Regions from separate parts of the Homo sapiens genome. Here regions 1 and 2 are each linked to region 3. The links are contacts of gene promoters, found by promoter capture Hi-C in blood cells and fetal thymus (Javierre and others, 2016). All regions are on one chromosome and are shown on one strand. Each heading gives the region's core, a stretch centred on a gene start or on the middle of the fragment in contact. The rest is flanking DNA. Distances are from core to core; before and after follow the strand shown.

Evidence for each region. Contacts are between HindIII fragments. The CHiCAGO score rates a contact against its expected background, and 5 or more counts as called.
Region 1: a contact is called between a fragment that was not itself captured here and the fragment with the promoter of COL19A1 in region 3, in 2 of 17 cell types (naive B cells and total B cells). The highest score is 5.8, in naive B cells.
Region 2: a fragment that was not itself captured here is called in contact with the fragment with the promoter of COL19A1 in region 3 in 1 of 17 cell types (total B cells); the score reaches 5.5 in total B cells.

What each region holds. Positions count from the first base shown.
Region 1 is chr6:70,166,524-70,170,164 of GRCh38, forward strand. COL19A1 (collagen type XIX alpha 1 chain) reads left to right here. Exons shown (of 51, transcript NM_001858.6): 38 at 1,502-1,552; 39 at 1,648-1,692; 40 at 2,132-2,158. Among named protein-coding and RNA genes, the nearest start is that of COL9A1, 130 kb to the right of the region's middle. The HindIII fragment of the contact is 5,357 bases long and covers 1-3,641 here.
Region 2 is chr6:70,135,847-70,139,775 of GRCh38, forward strand. It overlaps COL19A1 (collagen type XIX alpha 1 chain), which reads left to right. Exons shown (of 51, transcript NM_001858.6): 19 at 1,839-1,901. Among named protein-coding and RNA genes, the nearest start is that of COL9A1, 170 kb to the right of the region's middle. The HindIII fragment of the contact is 4,720 bases long and covers 104-3,929 here.
Region 3 is chr6:69,864,746-69,868,451 of GRCh38, forward strand. COL19A1 (collagen type XIX alpha 1 chain) reads left to right here and starts at 1,811. Exons shown (of 51, transcript NM_001858.6): 1 at 1,811-1,895. RefSeq lists silencers at 2,449-2,498, 2,719-2,768, 2,779-2,848. The HindIII fragment of the contact is 9,714 bases long and covers 909-3,706 here.

The sequences.
Region 1 (3,641 bases), core at 598-3,097, 300 kb after region 3:
GAGGAGCCTCTCTCCGTGGCAAGTCTGCCCTCATGTGGGGCCACGCTCGAATCGCAGCCGAGCCGAGCTGAGATATCACGCAAAACACCCTTTTCTACCCCACCTCACAGGAATACTTTAAGAAACCAAACTCACCATAGAAAGGGCAGAATTGACCGTGACTTTCCGAAGACAATGAGGATTATTATCAGTCTGCGTGCAGTTGCATGCTTTGTACACGTAAATGAAGAGATTAGCACTCTATTTCCTAAACTTGTTTCCTAAATCTGTTCATCTGTGTTACTGACCTTTTCCCTTGACAAGAAAGCAGGACGGAAAGTATTAGGGTTCAAATCCTAAAATTCACTCCTTCCCCCGTGGGCAGAACAGCAAATATAACATGAGTTCATGAAAGGGACCTATAATTTTATAATGCACTTAAGATGTCTTTGTCTTCCCTCTGAATTCTCCAAAACCATCCATCCTTCAAAACACAGTTTAAATGTTTTCTTCCCTGGGAAACCTCCTTTGGAAATCTCAGATGAAAATATCCTTTGTCTCTCCAGGACGTAGCACACTAAAATATGGCAGACATTCAGTCGCTGTCAGATAAATGAGTTAAATAATAGAGTAATAAATGGATGGAGCGTTTGTCTTCCATCACTAGTGTTTGGAAGATGCATGCAAATTGTCTTCACAGAACACTACTGGCCACCATCATACAGAAACAATGAAACAGTGACTTCTTCAACTCTGCAACTGATATGTGAAAACTGCAGAAAGGAAAAGGCAGATTTGACTATTGATTCTATACAAATGTTTAAAAAGAAAGACAAAAGATTCTAACTAAAATTTTTATATGGAAATTTTTCCTAAATGCTAAAATGTATGATTTTTTTAAACTATAGAATAAGTTCTCCTTTAAGTGTTGGTTACTCTAGGACATGTCAATTTTTTTCAAGATGTTCTTATTCTCTTTTATCCTAAAGAATTTATTTTTGTAGAAACATCCACACAGGGTTGTGGATAATGTCATCTCCCCATTTACCTTAATTTTCTATTTGGTATGAAAAGACTGTGGAAAAAAATTACTTTTCAGTAGCCAAATTGTTCCCTATTCACATCTTCATCAGCACTATGGCATTATAGCCTGCAGGTTAGCAGGCTGTAAACAGTTAGTATAAATTGACAATTCAGAAACTGAATTTTAATGAGCAAATATTTTCCTCCAAATGCATTAGTGTCTCATCTGTCAAACCTGAACATTAATTAAACCCCAACTGAAAGTATCCGTGTGCTTCAGGTGTAGCTCACACTCCCTTTTCATTTCCCTGCATTTGCTTTGGAAAAGCTAAAAATTAAAATGTATTATTTTACTTAGAGTATTAAATTCCCTTTGTAAAATAGAATAGAAAAAAGTAAAAAATAGAATAGGAATAGTATCATTTGGTAAAATGATAAAATGTAGAGATGCAAAGTATTAACTTCCAAGAATAATTCTGTATCTCACCTCTTTCCTAAGGGTATTCCATTTAATGAACGAAACGGCATGAGCAGTTTATATAAAATTAAGGTATTTATATTTGTAATTATTTAAAATCCAGTTATAGACTGCTGTAAATTCGTCTCATCTTTCTCTTTTTCTTTTCTTTTCATTTTCTTTTGAAGGGAGGTGTGAATGTTCCCAGTTACCCAGGGCCACCCGGTCCTCCTGTAAGTACAGTTGTTTATCATCAAACACACTTTAGCTGAACAACCACAATGAAAAACAAACAATAAAAACCTCTTAAGTTCACTGAAAAACGCATGTTATGAATACAGCCAAATTTTACAGCAGAAGGAAATAAGTAAAACCAATTATAATAAAATTGAGAAAATGTATGCAGCCAAAATAATGGAAAACAGCATTTTTCATGGTGGTGTCACTTTTTTCATTGCAAATCTAAGAACTAAGTCAATGTCCAAGCAATCATTTTTATGAAATTTCCATCAAGTTATATTTATTCATCTTATTCTTCAAATTCAAACTGTAATTAAAGCAAAACTTGCTAATATTCGTATGTGTATTAAGGCAAATTGGACAACAGTGTTTCTTATTCTGTAACTGCTTTGGTCATTATTTGAAAAATGACTTTCCATGTTTCTCTTACAGGGCCCAAAAGGCGATCCTGGCCCAGTGGTATGAATGTTCCCATGTTTTGTGTCATTTAGAATATTGGTCTTTGTTAAATTTTGAAAGAAAAGCATCGGGCAAAATGGCCTGCCTTCTTAGGTGTTCATCAATTAACATGCTGGTGGTGACAAGCAGGCCACAATATAAATGCCAGCAATATGTTCTCTGTTTCTGAGATGCATTAGTCCTGATGTTGTCACTGCCCTTGAGGTTTGTCTCTTTCCGTCAGTGTGTTTTTAAAATCATCCTGTGATGGAGGAAGACACATATAAACTCTGATAAATGGGGCACTTTCTTCTAATAGCCCTCTTCTGATAATTGATTCAATTTTAAGTAGATTGTGGAAGAGAAATACTTACTGGAAAGAAATCCCTTAATATATCTGCCATCTCCCCAACAAAAAAAAAGGAACTGTTTATTTGCTTTAAACGTCTTAGGCAATTATTTTGCAGGAGATATGTTTTGTCATAAGGCTGCTTATTAGGAGGAATGTATCAGGAGGTTATGCTCAGCATGGAAGGAGATCATGTCCTCCAGCCGCCTAAAGGACGATAATTGTTCTCAGCATCTTTCTGAACCATGGAGCCTCTGTAAAAGTTCTGCCAAATTCAATTAGATGCCCTTTATTGCTGGGCATTTTCTCCTGTCATGTCTTTTTCAAGCATATCCTTCATGTTTCATTTGTATATATTTTAACCTTTGGGTATATACTTGAAACTCAAATGTACCTAAAGCTGAAATAAATTTTCAAAACACTTTCCATTGCCATGTGAAAAAAAATTTAAAGCCTTTTCATTATAGTACAGTTTGTTAAAACTCAATGAATAAATTTTAAACCAGCAAAGGGACAAGTCATAACAAGTAATGTTTTTATGTCTAAAAACATATTTTAAAGAGATGCATTAAAGAGCTGTTTGATTTTGTTATTGGGCAATATATATTAAAAGCCAAATTGTTATCCCCTGAAAGCATTGTTTCAACTAGTTAGGATCATATTCTGTAATTCAGTTTCCTTTGTTTTACTATTCATTCACCCTGTCTACCCTATCTTTACCTGAAACCAACTATACGCTTCATTCTAATTTTAATTTTCTTACATCTTGTTGATAAAAATTTCCTCCTGGTCTTTCCCTCTCATACTCATACACACAAAACAGCTTCTCTGAATCATTTAAAAGCACCTAGGCTTCTCACTGACTTTTTGGGAACATTCTTTGAAGTTCTTGCATTAATAACTGCAGATTAAGATAAGAACTTTTTAAGTATTATAATAAAGGATAAATTATAATTTACTGGCATTGAAAAGGGGCTGGCAACAAAAATGTAGACCTATTTGAGTAGAATTTGAAGAGATTAGTCTTCAAATTTCTTAGCTACAACAAAGGATGAAGAATAAAAACTGATTGAAGTGTGTTCCTTGCTTTTAGAGATGTGAATTGAGTGAGTGAAGCACAGAAACAGAAAAATGCAATCATGAAATGAAATACAC
Region 2 (3,929 bases), core at 1,214-3,713, 270 kb after region 3:
GACTTCCATGCTTCTGAAAGAGTTCAGGTTCTGGTCATGTCCCGGTCTTCTTGGTTCCACCCAGGGGGTGGAATTGTTGGTTCCAGCTGTTGTTACAAGTCAAAGCTTTTTCTGTTATGCGTGCCTAGGCTGCATGACTTGCAGTTTTGGGCTCTGTTATACCTTAAAGGTAACTTGACATTTTGTTATCAACAGAGTAGGCCCTGTTTGGGCTGGTTCCACAGTTATACTATCACATGAGGTTTTAAAATTTTAGTAAAATTAAGATTAAATTAAACAAAACGTATTCCATAAATCTAGAAGACTAATTAATACAAACATGATCTTGTCTATCCATTACAGAAAATCACAAGACATGGATTAGGATATACATATAAAAATAAGCCAAAGATTTTAGGGCTGTAGTAAATTTATACTTGAAGCACTTTTTGGTAGCTGTTTGAGGCTTCAAAATGAACAATTAGGCACATCCACAGGGGTCAGGATTAGAGATGTTCACTGCAGCCTTGTTTATAATAGAGAAAAGCTGATTACAATCAAAGTGCCCATCGGTGGGGCTGAGATAAACGCTGGTTTATTAACATGTTAGAATGCTACTCATCTGTTATAATGAATGAATGAGATCATATGTATCAATAGAGATGGATATTAAAAACAATGCTGAGTGGAAAAAACAAGTCATAGTATGTTATTTATGAGATAAAGCTATTTATGGAATTTGTTTCAAATATTCAATAATATATTGTTTATGATTCCACATATGCAGTAAAAGTACAATAATATAAACTGAAAATATAAATACTAAATTCTTGAGAGTGGCTCCCTCTGGGTGGAAATAGGAAATATAGGGGATTTCTTCTTTGTAAATTTTTTAATTTCTTTCATTTTGGGTACCTGGTACATGAAGGCTTGGTGTATTCTACTTTATTATGTTTTCTGTATTTATTCTTTTGAAGTAAAAAAATAGGCCAGGTAGGCAAAAACGGTATATGCTCAGAAATGTAATGGTGAACATCATTTTGCAAAAATGCTCTTGAAGTTAGGGAAAAAAAATCAGCATTACATATCTTCTAGAGACTATGTTTAATTTAAGAATTGTGTAGGTATTCAGAGATCTTGGTAAACACTAAAAGGATGCACAATGCTGAGACTCCTCTGAAGTCTCATTAGTGATATAACTCCTTTCTTAAGTATTACTTCTCAAATTATATTTTCCAAAAACACTCTTTATATGTCACATACAGATCTCTCTTCAAGGTTTTTGACCAGAACCTCTTAGACATTTCTAAGCTACTGCTGTCACCACATCTACAAGAATGCCTTATTTGCCCACAGCCAATCATCTAAGTAGCATTATAAACCCTGGAAACAGCTGAGAGACTCGTTTTGCTTCATATAACTGCTGACTCTGCCCACCTAAACAAAGAAAAAAGTGCCTGAAATAAAATGAGTCTGGATTATTGTGCCAGTTAAACAGTCTGATGTCTTTGAGATCACACACAAAAAAAATTGGTTTTGGCACACCAGAACAAAATTATAATTTTTCTCCTCTAGATAGATATTCTTTCCTGGAAAAATAATTAACTTTGTTTCACATTACATTTAAGTATCATAATGAAATATATGGATTTCTAAAAGACATAAAGCCATTGTGAAGTACTGACAAACACATTATCATAAAAATAGCCTAAGTAGATTCAGAACTTTGCATTGTCTGTTGGATGCTAATAGATAAATTGTATAGTTAGCAGGAGAGCAAGCAATCATTCTGTATCTGACAGTCACAATAATGCTTCTCTAACCATCTGCAAAATCTCTCTTCTGCTTTGTCTTGAAAGGGTGAAACTGGACTACCAGGATTTCCAGGGTCTGTTGGCCCTAAAGGACAAAAAGGAGAACCTGTAAGTATTTTAGCTTTGAGGACAGAGGAAGAATATCTAAAAAACGGGATTAAAAATACGTTTCCAAATCAGCCCCAATTCCACGTGCCTTGGTTGATCCTGTCATGGGAAACAACAGATCAGATCTTCAAGCAAGTACTAGCTACGCTATGCACTAAGTCTCTTACATGTATTTACACACTTAATCCATAAAAAGTTTCCATAAGGTCATCTATTATCACCTGCATACTTCAAATGATGAAAGTAAGGCATAAAGAGGTTAAAAAACTTTGCCCAAAGTCACACAGTACTAAGCATTGGAGCTGTGAATCACACCTAGGTGAGTTGATTCTAGAACCTAAAGTTTAAAATCACAAAGCTCCTCTGGTATAACTAAACACTGCAGCTAAAATAATAAAATCAATGTATCAAAAGACTAGTACAAATTTATCCAAAAGAAATTGGAAACACATCTTTCTGCTCAAACAACTGTTCTCAGTGTACCTTCTGAAGTTATTTTTCTTTCTTGATTTTTGTATGATCAAAGTGGCTTCCCAACCACTTTTTGGTATTACTGTGGCCAGTTTCTTTCAAAATGTAGTTCTTTTTGTGGGGAAAAAGAGAAAAACCCTACAGTATCATTTATATTCAAATAGGACCACCTAAAGTGATTAGAGAAATCATAGGTACAAAAAATGACTTGTTTTAATGCTTCTTTTAAAAAAGCAGTTTTCAAGAATCAGTGAGAATCAGGCTTAACAAATGTTTCATCTTTGTTTAAAGAAAAGTAATACATCTTATTAAACCACTCTACCCCTTTCTTTACGAGACTGAATAAAGGATATTGGTTTATCAGGGGATAAAACATGAAGAGGTCACTAAATTGCCTGCATGACAAACAGGAACATTATTTAAAGTATTCAGTGTTACAAAGCCAAATTTTCCCTATGCTTCAGCTTTAAAAAATTAACAATGACAGTAATTTTTGCAGCTTTAGAATCAGTCTGTGGCCTATGTACCCCAGTTCTTCTACCTTCAGGAGTCGTGCTTGCCCTTAGTATTCAGTTCAAGCCTTCTTACACAACTACAGGATTTGGCAGTCTTTAATGAGGTTCTCCAACTGAGTATTTGCAATAATGTCTGGAAAATCTCATGTCTCAGAAATCCAGCCTGGTGCATGCCCCTGGTACCTGCCAACTCTCTAGGTGCTCCACACTTGGAGGTTCCTCTTACCATCTCTTAGCTGCTTCTCTAGGTCTCCACTGTCTTCCCTCCAAACCTGAACACTGACACCAACCTTCTCTTAATTTCCACATGATGCATGGAGGACCCTGCAGTAAGATTAATAAAAATTTTACTGGAAAATCGAGGATTTTTAGAGCAGAAAGGAGAAACTTTCAGTGAGTTAGAGCGGTGCTTCTCAAATGTGAACATGCACTTGAATCCCACTGATTCTAAGTCAGTAGGTTTGGAAGCAGGACCAGAGAGTCTGTGTTTCTCATAAGCTCTCAGTAATGCTGGTGTTATTGGTCCATGGACCACACTTTAAGCAGCAAGGGTTGAAGGAGTTCATAGTTCCTAGGAGTCATAGGCCTTTTCCTCCTGCAGGGATTTCCTCTGGCTTTCTTTCTGGCTAACTTTCAAGGGCAGTCCATGTATCTCATGAGGACTGCCTTTAGCCCTGTTTTCCTTAAATAGAGCTTCTTTTCCTCCTAACTCTTCTCCATACCAGGTCCCTATTCATCCCTTAATTATCCCACCACCCCATACATCTTTACTTGCCACCTTCCTCTACCCCTACATTAAAACAACGCAAATTTTACATTATTACGGAGAGCAGTTTAGCTTTTTATGGTCTCAAACTTTCTCTTCCAGAACAGGATGTAGACTTTACTTTGCATAATAATCAGAAGGCCCAAACAGAAGAGTAGTATTCATTCAAAGGTAAATTCTGAACCACTGATCCCGAATGGTAACTAAAATGGCAAATTTTCCCCCACCATAGGACATTCAGAATATGGTTTGATGTGTAACACATCAGAGCTAAAA
Region 3 (3,706 bases), core at 561-3,060:
AAATAGAGAAATATTTGTTGCCCTGGGGATGTTGGTGTATCTAGAAACAGAATAAGCAACAGATAATAATAATTTGAAGTTTTATTTATTCATTTTTCACTTTCTTCCAAAATCTTGCTTGGGTCAATATTAGAAATAAGAAAAGGGCCATTTTGAAATATAAACAAAAATATAAGTGTTTAGCTCTCTCAAATATCTTAACAATTATGAAATTATTAAAATGTTTAAGAAAATAATTCTAAGATAAACTTGATTTACTTGTATTAAAACAAAAATTAGAGACAAAATTGTGGACTTCCTTTTAGGTAGTTTTAAAGCATTACTTTAAATAGTTTCAATTAAGTGTAAATAAGGTGAATTTAATAGTCTGACAAAGAAATAAAGCCTGGATGCTCTTAGTTCAATTCATTAGTGATGGCAAGGTATATAAAGTAAAATTGCTTAGAGAAAGAAAAAAATCAAATGGGATAATACTTCAAAAAAATAGAGACTGATCACCAAAAGTCTAATGAAGGTTTGTGAATCATGTTTTTCAAATGGCCATTTGAGTAGCGTGACTCATGCAATATCCTCCCTCCTTGGCCTCTTTCCACAGTCAGCCAAAAATTAGTGATGAAAATCATATGAGAAGGAAATGTATCAAGTGGTTTTAAATCCTGACATAGAAACATGGTTTGCATCACCATGAATGCCGAACTCTAAAACTGCAGGTATCTTGATTAGGTTGAGAGAGAAGTTTAAAAATCACAAGTGATACTTTAATGGTTTCACTCCAATGAAGTGGAAAGGAGCTATCTTTTAACATTTTTCTTAACATCTTTATTTTTTGCCTGCCTGATTTTATTTATTCCTTGATCTGTGAGCTCTGATATGTGAAGTGTATTTCTATGGTTCTAAGGTAACTTTTAAGCTTGATGATTTTCACCATTGTGGATCAATAATATAATTTATCCTATTTCTCCCACTGTGGCAATACTGAAATAAAAATGTAAAACCAGTTTATCTGTTTTCTAATGCCTGGTTTACTCTTCTGAATTCTATAAATCATTCTGTTTTTCATATATACACATACATATGCATACACTATATGTATACATATAAATTTACTATATATGTATATATACCTACAAATATATATGCCTACAAGTATCCATATATACCTCCTATATATGTATATAAACCTACTATATATGCCTACAAATATATATATACTCTCTCTACACACACATACATGCACCTACACAGAAATCTGCAGGAAAATGACACTTTCACATATTCAAAGGGATCCCAAAAGAGTTCAAAAGCCAAGATTGGAAGCACCAACCCATGGAAAGATGTATTTAAAATCACAAAATACTTCTGTGGACACTGAGAAAAACCAAGCCACACAAACGTTTACATATGAGCGTGATTAGAAGGTGGGCAGACTGCCTTAATCAACTTTATATAAACTCTTGACATAAAAGTGAAAAAATGAAACATAAATGATATATTTTCTTAGCTCAACCGTTAAAAAGCCAATTACCTACTCGTGAACGTTTGCCACATACAATAATACTTTGAAGACACTTCATGATCAGAAGTGAGAAACTCTAGGCATTTGCATCCAACCGTCATTTTATCTGTGAAACTGCTAGTAAAACATAAACCTGAAAGGCATTACTCCCAGCTCTAAGGCGACATCGCTGTCATTAAAGAAAACCTGTGCCTGAGTTGGCTGAGTACCTTCTTGCAGAGTCCTCTGTCCTCGCGGAGTGGGAGGGTCACACTGGGAGAGACTAATAAGGGCAGAGATGCGTCCCCCTTCCCCACTCGCAGGGAGCTCACTCCTCGGCGGTGCCGCAGCCCTGTCCGGACTCCACTGCGCCTCTGAGGGGCTCAAATACGAATTCAAGGTAAGCTGCGCGGCTTTGCGACCGGCTCTGCACTTGCCCTCTCACACATGCCCGGGCTATGTCATCTGCTCGTGTTCCTAGTTATCTGTGTGCATCTGCTTTTCAAGAAAATGTAAAAACTGTGCTACACATGGAAATATGTTTAGGTGGATAAATAATGCACACCTGCATACGTTTCCATAGGGGCCTTAAGGATGGGACCAAAAACGTTTGGCAGGAGACGGCCACTCTCATGTGGTACATACCATGTAGTTCGTGTTCCTATGTTCACATGATGCAGGCTTCATGCGTTACACCTAAGTTCTAGGTGGTTTTTCTGGCTATGTGTGTCTGTGAAGCGGAACTATGGAGCACTGCTGATGCGGGTAGGGACAGACATCAAATACATTACAAAAAAAATGGGGGGTTAAAGGAGTAAAACAAACTCACTATCAATTCATGCCGTTAGAGCGCTTTTTTTTTTTTTTTTTGACGGTGTTAGCCCTGGAAGCGAGGCAGCCAGTTAAGCGGCGTAAGCTAAGAGACGCGGGGTTCCGGTGCGGTGCCCTCCGGCCCGGGGTTACCTACTCCACATGTGGGTGTTTTTCCCAAGTGCGGCTTCTGGGGGGCGGCGCGGGCGCGGGCGGGGATTCCCGGACTCCAGCCCCACCACGTTCCGGAGCGTCCGGCCCTGTTCCTTAATTACCCTGCAGCATGCGCAGCGCGGTCGGCCACAGCGCCGCCGCCGTCCCCGCAGTCCTCCCTGCAGCCACCGCCGCCGCCGCCGGAACGTCCCAGTCGCGGCGCGAGGAAGACGCGGCCCCAGCCTCTGCCGCCTCCGCTGTCAGAGTCCCGAGGCCACCGCCGAGAGCGCGCCGGCGCCGCAGCCACAGCGGCCGAGAACCAGGAGGCGGCGCCGGGCGGCCCAGCTAGGGCGCTGCAGGGTCGCGAGGAAGTTTGTTGGCCCGGAACCAAGCACGCCGTCGGGCACGCTAGCTCCCCGAGAGCAGGCGGGCGCGTAAGCGAACCCCCTTAGAGGTTACGGAGGGAGCGGGAAGCCGGCAAGAGGGTGGGCAGAGGAGCTGGGGGACAGGCGGGTGCCACAGGAGCCCCCGAGGAGCTTCATTTGATGAGAAGGTGAAGAGGCAGAGGGGACCAGCGTGCCTTGTCAGCCTCAGGGGACAGTGGGCTGGAGAGCAAAAAGAGGAGGGCCCAGAATGCTGATAATAAGTAGTTTTAATAGAACAATCCGTGAATAGAGGCAAGAGAGTGATCATCGGCCACAGCTTGAGATTGGGAGATGGAAGAGTAAGGGAAATAAATTGCGCCACCTCCCTCAATCCCCAATTCCAAGACGACTCAGTCCCATCTTCTGCTTGGATAAGTCTGAGGAGGATTAAGATGTGAGGATAATCACTCTGCTGTAGGGGAATTTACATCTGCCTGTTAATGGAGGAGATGAAACAAACGCACACCAGTATCTATTTTCAACCACCACCCCTCCCCAAAAAGGAGAGAACACCAATGCCTCCCCCTCTGCCCGAATCAAACACTGCTATAATTCTTTAGGAGACTAAAGGGAAAAAAAAAAAAGAAAGAAAAGAGCCCCTGCTCGTATGTGGGGTCTTGGCATCTCCTTGTTTTTGAGTGGTGGGAAACTTGCAGGACCCTCTCTAAGTAGAGAGATCTTTGATATGGGCCTGCAAAGCTGAGATATTTAGGTATTCCAGTGGTGAAAAACATGCATAAATGCCCCTTCCTGAGGAGGGCTGACAGGGTTTTTGTGTAGGAATATCTCTTCAGGATGAAAAAGAGGAGGGTGACCCCCAGAG